Linked DNA regions of Homo sapiens: region 1 is linked to region 2. Evidence: promoter capture Hi-C in 16 types of primary human blood cells and fetal thymus (Javierre and others, 2016). All regions are on one chromosome and are shown on one strand. The core of a region is centred on a gene start or on the middle of the fragment in contact, and the rest is flanking DNA. Distances in the headings are between cores, read along the strand shown. Region 1 overlaps WWP2 (WW domain containing E3 ubiquitin protein ligase 2). Region 2 holds the start of CLEC18A (C-type lectin domain family 18 member A).

What was found. Contacts are between HindIII fragments. The CHiCAGO score rates a contact against its expected background, and 5 or more counts as called.
Region 1: a contact is called between a fragment that was not itself captured here and the fragment with the promoter of CLEC18A in region 2, in 1 of 17 cell types (endothelial precursors). The highest score is 6.8, in endothelial precursors.

What each region holds. Positions count from the first base shown.
Region 1 is chr16:69,775,940-69,781,889 of GRCh38, reverse strand. The region is part of intron 1 of WWP2 (WW domain containing E3 ubiquitin protein ligase 2); the gene reads right to left. Among named protein-coding and RNA genes, the nearest start is that of WWP2, 17 kb to the right of the region's middle. The HindIII fragment of the contact is 1,389 bases long and covers 3,521-4,909 here.
Region 2 is chr16:69,947,529-69,953,497 of GRCh38, reverse strand. CLEC18A (C-type lectin domain family 18 member A) reads right to left here and starts at 2,164. Exons shown (of 12, transcript NM_001370523.4): 1 at 2,008-2,164; 2 at 1,372-1,463. The coding sequence starts at 2,131. RefSeq lists enhancers at 391-1,004, 2,231-2,843, 2,844-3,457. The HindIII fragment of the contact is 42,237 bases long and covers 1-5,969 here.

The sequences.
Region 1 (5,950 bases), core at 2,966-5,465, 170 kb after region 2:
TTGTTATAAAAGCAAGTTCAGCCCCTCACGTTTCTCTCTAGCTCTCCTGCCTTTCCTTCCACTTGGGATGTGGAGTACAAAGGCCCTTGCCAGGATGTGGGCCCTCCACCTTAGACTTCCCAGACTCAAATACAAAGAATAAATCTCTTTTCTTTATAAATTACCTAGTCTCTTTATAAATTATCCCGTTTCTATTATCCAGTTATAGAAACACAAAATGAACTAAGACACCGTCTAACTCAGAGTAAAAGCCAGCGGGCGCCTATAATCCCAGCACTTCGGGAGGCTGAGGCGGGCGGATCACCTTGTGCTCAGGAGTTCAAGACCAGCCTGGGCAACATGGTCAAACTCCATCTCTCCAAAAAAAATACAAAAATTAGCTGAGTGTGATGGCACATGCCTGTGGACCCAGCTAATCAGGACCACAGAGTTGGGAGGATCCCTTGAGCCCAGGAGGTCAAGGCTGCAGTGAGCCAAGATTGTGCCACCGCACTCCAGCCTGGGTGACACAGTGAGACCCTGTTTGAAAAACAAAAACAAAAAAAGAGTAAAAGCCAAAGACCTGCAAATGAACTTTGACGTCCTATGCAATACCTTCCCCCATTTCCACACCCCTCTCTGACCTCATGGCCCACTTCCTGCTCCCCAGTATCCCCCCACCCTCATCATGCTGTGATTACTGCCACACAGGCCTCCTCACTGTTCAACTATCCCTTGAACGTGCAGACAGACTCCCATCTCAGTTCTTTTTTTTTCCTTTTTTAAAGCCAAATTTAGCATTCAGGGGTTGTATACAAACTTTAGTGACACTAATGTTAATAAGTTCTGATAACCCACTACCACAGGACCAACCTGTTTTTTTGAGACAGGGTCTAGCCCTGTCACCCAGGATGGAGTGCAGTGACATGATCATAGCTCACTACAACCTTGACCTCCTGGGTTCCAGTGATCCTTCCGCCTCAGATTCCTGAGTAGCTGGGACTACAGGCATTTGCCACCACATCCAGCTGATTTTTTTCCTTTTTTATTAATTTATGTATTTATTTTTTGTAGAGATAGGATCTCACCATCTTGCCCAGGCCAGTCTTGAACTCCTGGCCTCAGGCAATCCTCCCAGCCCCACCTTCCAAAGTGCTGGGATTACAGGCATGAGCCATTTCACCAGGCCAAAAAGATGATGTTTTGACTCACTTAGACTAAATTTGTCTTGGCAAAGCAGTAAAAAGATCAACTCTCTTTGCTACTCATCAGATTAGAAAGAGATGAGAAGCCTGACAATTAGTGTTGGAGAGAAGTCTCACATGCCTGTGGAGGCAGCGCACATTAGATGGCAGCTGACAACCTCCGGCAGAGTTAAAGACGCGTAATTTTGGACCCACCAGGATTCTACTCCCAGGCATTTGCAGAGGGAGAAATTCTCCAACACACACAGAAGAGGCCATGTTCAAGGATGTTCATCATAGCAGTATTTGTAATAGTAAAAAATTATAAACAACTTAAATACCCATCAATGGGGGAATGGATAAATTGATATATTTCTAAAATGGAATGCTATATAGTACCTGAAATATATGAATTTAATCCACATGTACAAATCCCAAATGATAATGCCAAGAGGGGAAAAAAAAAAAAAAGGCAAGTGGCAGCCTTAGTACGATGTCTTTGGTGTACACTTGAACTTACACAAAACAACTGTATACGTTGTTGTTGTGGACACACAAACGTTTAAAAGTATAAAAGTACGACGGGAAGGAACCACACCAAGTTCAGAACAGAAGTTCCCTCTAGGGTAGGGGAGGAGGGAGCAGGGGAATTGGAGTGGGGAAGAGACCAAAGGAACCTCAACTGTATCTACAACATTTTATCTTTCAAAGAAAAAAGTTCTGGGGCAAATATGGCAAAATGTTCATATTCATTAAATCCAGATGGTGGTTTTTATGACTGTTTGTTATCTTCATCTCTAACCATTTTATATGTTTGATCTCTTTCATAATTGAACAATAATTTTAAGGGGAAGCAAAAGATCGTATCTTGAATAATGCAGGAAAGATTATAAATAATTATAAATTGAGCCTTGGGGCTTTTAGTTAACAGGGGTTAAAGCACTAAACGCTGGAAATCCATTATTTACAGACTTTAAAAATGAAAGAATATTTTAGAAATCTTTACTTCTATTGGGACTCTTTCTTTCCTAAGGCAACTCAACTAATGGTAGTTTTTAAACTATCTTGTTCTCCTGAACTGTAGCAGTTTTGAGCCTTTGGTCCTGACTCTTAGAGAATGGAACTTGAAGCCCATACATGGCCTGTTCAACAGAAGAAAGACCAAACTTTTTGATCTACACTTCAGGGCCGCAAAACTAAAACAATCAGATAAATTCTAAAGAAGGCTCAGAAGGAACAAAGGCAACTGGGAAGGCAGGAGAAACAGGGTAGATAAAACATCACCATGTTTTCTTTCTCCAGTGTCTTTTAAAATTGCAGTCCACTGCTTATATAACAGTAATCCATGTTATTCTATAGAGCTTTGTCTGGAGTTCCAGATCTAATGAGCAAGATACCACCCTGACATTATATAATGTAGGCATTTGGAATTGTAAAACCTTTCCAATTGATGCATAAAGAAAAATAACCGGCCGGGGCCACGCACAGTGGCTCACGCCTGTAATCCCAGCACTTCGGGAGGCCGAGGCAGGTGGATCACCTGAGGTCAGAAGTTTGAGACCAGCCTGGCCAACATGGTGAAACCCCATCTCTACTAAAAATATAACAAATTAGCCGGGTGTGGTGGCGGGCACCTGTAATCCCAGCTGCTTGGGAGGCTGAGGCAGGAGAATTTCTTGAACCTAGGAGGTGGAGGTTGCAGTGAGCCAAGATTGCACCATTGCACTCCAGCCTGGGCAACAGAGCGAGACTCCATCTCAAAAAATAAATAAATAAATAAATAACCGGCCAGGTGTGACAGCTCACACCTGTAATCCCAGCACTTTGGGAGGCTCAGGCATGCGGATCACTTGAGGGCAGGAGTTCAAGACCAGCCTGGCCAACATGGTGAGACCCCCGTCTCTATGAAAAATACAAAAATTAGCGAGGAGTGGTGGCGCAACTATAATCCCAGCTACTCGGGAGGCTGAGGCAGGAGAATTGCTTGAACCCGGGAGGTGGACGTTGCAGTGAGCCGAGATCGCACCACTGCACTCCAGCCTGGGCAACAGAGCGAGACTCTGTCTCAAGAGAAATAACCGTAACTATAGAAAGGAACAGATCCCATCCCCATCAAAGTACTTTCGACCTCTCAGCTTTTGCCTCCCATCTTAGACAAGGTTCCTAATGCGTATTAGGTCCAAATCCCCACTATCCACTACAAGAAGCTTAGGAAACCTGAGGCCCAGACTTCACACTCTGTCTCAGCAACACGAACAGATGACTCCGTACACGTACTCAAGTAATTTCTCCCCTGCTAATAGCCATGGAAAGTAATTGCATCCTAATCACTCCAAAACTCTGAGTGAGCATAAGCTTTGCTGGAAGAGGGAGAAGGGGGTCAATGTTTAAAATATAACTAAAGGTTACCAGATGAACAAAGTATTTCATTATTGAAGAAACTAATGGACTTATTGGGAGGGGGATGGGAAAGTCAAAATGTCCCCCTTTACTAAGTCTGGTAGATCTATTGAAATTTCTCAAAAAAAAAAAAATATATATATATATATATATTTATTTATAGTATGAGTGTGTATGTATATATGTGTGTGTGTGTGTATCTATGTGTATGTATATACATGTGTGTGTGTGTGTGTATATATATATATATATATTTGAGACAGGGTTTCACTCTGTCACCCCAAGCTGGAGTGCAGTGGCACAATCATGGCTCACTGCAGCCTCAACCTCCTGGGCTCAAGCAATCCTCTCACCTCAGCCTTCTAAAAGGCTGGGACTACAGGCACCAGCCACCAGACTCACCTAATTTTTTAAATTTTTTGTACAGATGAAGGGGGTCCCTATGTTGTTCAGGCTGATCTGGAACTCTTGAGCTCAGGCAATCCTCCCACCTCAGCCTCCCAAAGTGATGGGATTACAAGCATGAGCCACCACACTTGGTCTCAAAAATATAAATAACATATTTATATATAATATAAATACAAACAACATATTTCCTCTGAACTTATCCTCTACATAAATCTTGACAAGCATTTTAAAAATAAAATACAAACTAATAGGGTAGAAACTATAAAAGTTGTATACCAAACTATAATAAATAAAAAGATTTTTTTAAAAGAAAATATAGGCCGAGCACGGTGGCTCATGCCTGTAATCCCAACACTTTGGGAGGCTGAGGTGGGTGAATTGCTTGAGGTCAGGAGTTCGAGACCAGCCTCGCCAACAGGGTGAAACCCCATCTCTACTAAAAACACAAAAATTATCTGGTCGTGGTGGCAGGTGCCTGTAATCCCAGTTAATAAGGAGGCTGAGGCAGGAGAATTGCTTGAACCCAGGAGGCAGAGGTTGCAATAAGCCAAGACCGCACCACTGCACTCCAGCCTGGGTGACAGAATGAGACTCCGTTTCAAAAAAAAAGAAAATATAAAAGTATATCACACACAAAGGAAAGTATTATTTCACAAAAAGTTTTACCAAATAAATATACATGTATATATATTAATAGGTGCATATATGATATCTCCATATGTATATTGTATATACACATATGTGTATATCCATATGTGTATTGTATATACACATATGTGTATATATATCCATATGTGTATTGTATATACACATATGTGTATATATATATCCATATACTGTTTTAAAATAAATATACATACATATATATACACACACACACATATACTGTTTTAAGATATAAAATGTATGTCTTACTAAAGGTTGCAGTCAAAAAAGCTTGAGACTACTGGTCTACAACAATCCCATCTAAGGTAGGGTTTTAGATTAAACAAACACTACAGAACCTAATAAGCAAATACTACACTAGGGACTAATTTCATTCAGAGAAATGTCATCAGTTTATTATAATTTTTTTTATTTTTTTTTTTTCGAGATGGAATTTCGCTCTTGTTGCCCAGGCTGGAGTGCAATGGCACAATCTCGGCTCACCACAACCTCCGCCTCCCAGGTTCAAGCAATTCTCCTGCCTCAGCCTCCAGAGTAGCTGGGATTACAGGCATGCACCACCACGCCCAGCTAATGTTTTGTATTTTTAGTAGAGACGGGGTTTCTCCATGTTAAGGCTGGTCTCGAACACCTGACCTCAGGTGATCCGCCCACCTTGGCCTCCCAAAGTGCTGGGATTACAGGCGTAAGCCACTGCGCCCGGCCTATTATCATTATAAGTTAAGAAACTTCCCACATCTAGGTAACAATCTCTAGAGCTTAGATAAGAGGCATTCATTCATTTGACAAATATTTATTGAGCATCTATTATGTACTCTGCACTGGTTTTGGTGCTAGTGGTATACTGCTGAATAAAACAGAAGAAAAAATCCTTCTTTACAAGATTATCCTGGTAAAGAGTCAAGAAAGATTCCCTCCTAGCTCTAGTTGTGGGAAGTAACCATAGTGAAATAGGCCCAGAGCAATGGCCTACTCTCCAGGGAAGAAGACTTTACCAGAGCCTTATCCTACCTGGTGGAAGAGAAGTCCCCTGACTCCAGCCCTCTTTAGCCTTTCTGTTTCATCTAAGGGGAGAAAAACAGTTAAATATGAGTGACAGTCATAGCCTGGGACACAGGCCCACTAAAAGACTAGGATTTGACCATGAGGCTATAGAATGCTTCCCCTCCCCCATACTTTGCTGTCACACCAACAGGGCTCCAGTACAACAACAGGGAATTAGGGCTGAAAGGCATACACTCTATTTAAGAAGGAGTTTTTAGGGAAAACCAAAGATAACAGGGGAGACAGAAACAAGGACACTAGAGGAATTT
Region 2 (5,969 bases), core at 915-3,414:
CCACCCCTGGGTGACTTGGTGCAGTCCCCTGATCTCCCGAGACTCCCTGAGCTCATCTGTAAACGGAGCAGGGAGGTGCCTGCAGGATAGGACTCACAAGCACTGAGTGGATGCAGGGAGGGGGGCCCCTCGGGGCTGCACCCCAAGCCAACTTCATCCTGCACTAATGTCCATCGGGGTTTTACCTCTGATGAAGGCTGGGGCCAGGAGCTGGGGGCTCCCCGGGGTCCCTCAGCAGCCCTCCACCCCCACAAGACCTTCAGTCTCCACTGTGTCCAAAGAGGGGGTGCCCTGGAGCCCTAGAGGCCCGGAGGGTGCTCGGGGCCGGGCCACGAGGGAGGCTGAGCCATGGAGCTCCATTTGCACCTTTACGGAAATGAAGTTTTCTAGGACTTTGACAAAAGGGCCCTGGAAAGGGTGCCAGCTGCCAGCCAACGACCACCGCAGCCCCTCCTGGGGTCCCAGGCAGGAGTACCCAACCACGGAGGTCACAGCTGGGAGCACCCCTGGTTGCCCAGGGTCTGAGCCTGAGGAGAGGCAGAGCCACTCAGGGCTGGGAATCGGGGAGAAGCGACCCCCCGCATTTAGCCACCCCACCCCCACCTCCTGGGAAACTGACCCTAGAGTGCTCAAGGTCGCCACTGTGGCCGCCTGCCTTGGAGGAGTTCATGGGAAGCAGCCATGGGGAACCCTCCCGCCCCCACCACCCTGCCCTGGCTCCCTGGCCTGCTAACATGGGCTGGGGCTGCTGGGGTCCCAGACAAGGGGGGGCAGCGTTTCTGAGCCTCCAGATGACAGTCCCAACCCCGCAGCCCCAGCCGGGCTGGTGGGGAATTCTATACCCCCGACCCCCGGCCCCTGCTGAAAATGTGGAAAATGTGGACGAGTGAGTGAGCAGAGAACATGGGCAAGGCCCGTCCTCGTGGCTCAGATAAGCTCAGGAGGAGGCGCTGGGTCCTTGCCGCACAGAAGCCCCTCCCCAGCCCAGCACGACCTTCTCCCTCCCTGGCCCGGCCGCCCATCCTGCAGGGCTCCTCGTGAAGCTCCCCTTCCCTGGAGGAGGGGATCCGGCTCCTCCTGTGGCTCCTGGTCTCTGTGACAACAAGATGCCAGGGAAGGCCCAAGGTCCTGCCCTTCAGGCGAGTGGGAGCCAAGGGGCCCGACCTCCTGAACTGAGGGTGGGGGGTTAAGAAATTGCAGAGACCCCCAGCAACCAGGGCCTCCGTCCCTCAGGGACAAGGTGGCTGGCTGTGCCTGCCCACCCTGGTCAAGTGGAAGGGCACCTGGACAGGCGTGGCCTCCTGAGCCGCCCTCTGGGGTCCGCGCCTCCGGCCACCCCCCTGGCAGAGCCCAGCTGGGTCGGGTACTCACCAGCCTCCGCATGTCAGCCGCAGGGGGCTGGACCCAGCTGCGCAGGCGGTTGTGCAGGGAGAGGAGCAAGAAACTCTCCTTCCTGTTCAGGGCTGGGGTGGGGAGAGAAGGTCAGGCAGCCCGAGGATGGGGGGACCTGAACCCAACACACGGCAGAATAAGCATGTGTCCCTGCCCTTGGAAAACAAGATGGGAGAGGAGTGTGGTGGGTGCAGGGGACGTGGGGCATAGCAATGGAGCGAGGCTGAGAGAGAGACCAGGTACAGCAGGCGTGGGCTGAGTGCTGGGGTTGGGGTGGCGGGAGGGAACAGCGGTGCGGGCTGGGTGTAGGGGCCAGCCCTGGCTCCCGCAGGCCCCTGTCTGGGGCTCCTCCGGGCCACGGATTTCTCCAGGCCCCAGCCACAGCGCCCCTCGGCGTTCCTCCTTGACCCCAGCCCTGGTCCTCCTTCCTCCTCCTTCCTCCCCAGTCCAGCATCCACCCCTCACCGCCCCCGGGCTGTCCCAGGGCTTCCTCATTAAACCACCCGCACGGCCTGGGGCTCAGGCCTGGGACCGGGCTTCCAGAAGTCTCCTAGCACCCACTCCTCAGAGCTCGTAATGGTGCCTCCACCTACCTCCTCACCAGGTGTCCCTTACCTCCGGCCATCGGAGCCTGCTCCTGCAGCTGGGGTGGCCACACCTCTGCCCAGGCGGTGCCAAGGAGGGCCAGGAGCACAGCCAGGAGATGCCCCCGGCCAGGGGAGGTCTCTGGATGCAGCATGGGTCTGTTGGGCCCGTCAGGCGCTCCGTGCACAGCCTGGCTCAGCCACCCGGCTTGTTTCTCAGGCTGGATGGAGCTATTCACAATCTCCAGGAGTCAGGCTGGGCTGGTGGACAAAAGAGGGAGGCTGGTGAGTGAGTAATCAGTGTGTCCAGACAGCCTCCTGTTGGCGCTGGCATGAAAAGAGACAACTCCGGGGGATGCCTGCCTGCTCCGGCCTCGGCCTGGCCAGCCCGCCCCCGACAGCAGGCAGAGTGGCGTGCACTGACCCGCGGCCCCTGCTAATCATTGTGGGATTATTAGCACCCTTGGGGAGCCCCCAGAGACCCCGCTGATTGGCCCGCGGACATTCCAGTGCTGCAGATTAGTGACCGATGGCCGTGTCCTGGCTGGGACAGTGTCCTCCGAGCCCACTGATGGCTTCCGCTCCCCAGCCCCGGGCCCTGGGAGGAGGACCTCGGCTATGGTCCTTCTGGTGAGCAGGAACTGGGCAAGACCCCAGGGGAGTTCTTTCCTTTCTTGGGAAGCTCGTCCCAACCCCCCAGCCATGAATTAAACATAGGCAAGAGGTAACCGCACACCAGAGGGGTGCAATCTGTGGGCTCAAAGGGGGGTGGGCTGAGGCCGCACCTGCACGAGGAAAAGGGTGCCTTAGGAAAGTCTGTCTGGGCAGGGTCGGGGGCTGGGCCCAGCCCCGGTGCCCACCACCCTCACCCACGTGACTACAGGCCAGGGGGGGAGTGAGGCAGGAGGAGTCAAAGCAGGCGGGGACCAGAGCACGTGATGCCCTGGGCTGACTCCAGTCCTGCTGGGATCACGTCCGCCTCTAGAAAAACAGGCGGCGTAGCAGGTGGGCAGCACGTTGCCATGATGTGCCGTGGCCCGGCCGTGGCTGGCGTGATCCCACCAGAGTGAGCTGGAGCAGATCTGCACCATGGGCCAAGTTTCTCAGAAAATACATGGCTTCCTGCGGGCTGCAACCTAATGCCCACGTTCCTCTCGGGGAAGACCAAAGGTTATTCAACCAGGGCAAAGGACAGCCTTGCAAACCAACTACGTCCTCCTTCTGGAGTTTGTGTGACCCCTGGCCCCTGAGCCCACACCCTCTCGGAGCGGGGTTCCAACTCTGTGGAAGCTCTGCTGAGATGCAGGTAGGGTTGGCTTTCCTGGGGAAACACCAGTGGAATGTGGCTATCGTCATGGATGCCAGGGATGGGGATGAGGCCAGGCATACAGGCCATGAAGGCGGTCTGGAACTGCATGTCCCCCACAATACCTAGGGGCTCAGGAGTTTCTTCTCCCTCAAACAGAAACCCAGCACCCTCAGGGTCACTGCGTGTGGGTCCTAGCAATGCTTAATAGCTACCTGTTTTTTGATGTATTTTTATTTTTATTTTTTAGACAGTTTCACTCTGCCACTCAGGTTGGAGTGTTATAATCTCAGCTCACTGCAGCCTTGACCTCTTGGGCCCAAGTGATCCTCCCACCTCAGCCTCCCAAGGAGCTGGGACCAGGTGTGTGCCACCATGCCTGGCTAATTATTATCATTTTTTTTGGTAGAGACAGGATTTCATCGTCTTGCCCAGGCTGGTCTCCAACTCCTGGGCTCAAGGGATCTTCCCACCTTGGCCTCCCAAAGTGCTGGGGTTGCAGGCATGAGCCACCACACCTGGCCAAGCCACCTGTGTTTATGGAGCTCACAAAGCCTGTTTGCATGTGTGAGTTCAAGTTATTGCCACAAGAACCTGGTGCAGTAGCAGATGGGATGCCCGTCGTGTAGATGAGGAAACGGGCTTAGTGTGTCTAAGGGGCTTGTCCAAGGTCACTCAGCGAGTGCATGGAGCATCCCAGCTAATCCAAGGTCTCTGCCTTCCCATTCCCAACGCTTTAATTCACATCCTGATCTTTCCCAGTGCAGTTTCCACAGCTCTGCTATGCCGGGTGATAAAAGACCCACTTCCTACAATTGGGCTTCCATGGCAAACACGGCCAGTTGACCCATATAGTATGATGCCAGGCACTTGGGACAGGCGGGAGAAAAAGATATTTTGGGGATTAGGGTGGAGCAACTTTTGAAGGGTCCCATGGCCCTGGCTCACTGCAAGAAGAGTCCCAGGCCGGGTGTGATGGCTCATGCCTGTAATCCCAGAACTTTGGGAGGCCAAGGCAGGCGGATCACTTGAGGTCAGGAGCTCGAGACCAGCCTGGCCAACATGGTGAAATCCTGTCTCTACTAAAAATACAAAAATTAGCTGGGCAGGGTGGTGGGTGCCTGTAGTCCCAGCTACTCGGTAGGCTGAGGCAGGAGAATTGCTTGAATCTGGGAGGCGGAGGTTGCAGTGAAGCAAGATGGCACCACTGCACTCCATCCTGGGCAACAGAGCAAGACTCTGTCCCACCCCCGACCCCTCAAAAAAAAAAAAAAAGAGTCCCAGGAGAGCAAGGTTCATGGGCCAGAAGAGAAGCTGAGTGGATAAAAGATTAATGAGACACTGGAAGACCTAGGCTGGAACCGACACGCTGTGTGACCCTGAGGATGGCACTCCCACTCCTGAAACTCAGTATCCAATGGCGTAGAGCTGGGATGACCCCTCTGCTGGGCCCCTAACCAGGGCATTGCAACTTGGTTTCCATGGTACTCCCTCCTGGGTTCAGACTTTTTAGTGGAGCCTGCTCGGTGGCTGGGGTGGGTTTGGAGAATGGGCAGCCTCATTGTTGCAAGGCAGCTTTCCCCAGGTGAGGCTACTACAGGGTTTACATCCACCACCCAGATTGTAGGGTTCACATTTTGCTGTATTTTCTTTATCACCTGTGTCTCTATCTATCCCACCCCTCTCCAGCTCATGCATAGCTGATACCTCTTCTCCCAGTCTGCATTTGAAGGTTATAGCGTTCGAGTCATTTTATCTCTTCCTGAAGCAGCTCCTTTCTTTAAAGCCTTGAAATCTTGTTGATGGTCTCAAAAAACAAACAAACAAACAAACAAAAAAAACATTTAACTCTAGGAGAGTTGTGGCCACATTTTCTTTTAAAAATTACATGTCCAGGCCAGGCGTAGTAGCTCACTCACACCTATAATCCCAGCACTTTGGGAGGCCAAGCTGGGTGGACTGCTTGATCTCAGGAGTTTGAGACCTGCCTGGGCAGCATGGTGAAACCCCGTCTCTAAAAAAAATACAAAAAATTAGCTGGGCGTGGTAGCACGTGTCCATAGTCCCACCTACCTGGGAGGCTGAGGTGGGAGGATAGCCTGAGCCAGGGAGGTCAAGGCTGCAGTGAGCTGTAATCGTGCCACTACACACCAGCCTGGGTAACAGACCAAGATTCTGTCTCAAGAAAAAAAAAAAAATTAGGCCAGGTGCAGTGGCTCATGCCTGTAGTACCAGCACTTTGGGAGGCTGAGGTGGGCGGATCGCCTGAGGTCAGGAGTTTGAGACCAGCCTGGCCAACATGGCAAAATCCCGTCTCTACTAAAAATACAAAAATTAGCTGGGTATGGTGGCACACACCTGTAATCCCAGCTACTTGGGAGGCTGAGGCATGAGAATCACTTGAGCCCAGGAGACAGAGGTTGCAGTGAGCTGAGATCACACCACTGCACTCCAGCCTGGGCAACAGAATGAGACTCTGTCTAAAAAAAAATCATGTCTATTTGATTTTTAAATTTTTCTTGAGACGAAGTCTGGCTCTGTTGCCCAGCTGGAATGCAGTGGCACAATTTTGGTTCACTGTGACCTCTGCTCCTGGGGCTTTGACCTCCACATCCCAGGCTCAAGCCATCCTCCTACCTCAAGCTCCTGAGTAGCTGGACTGTGGGTGTGCGCCACCATGCCAGGTA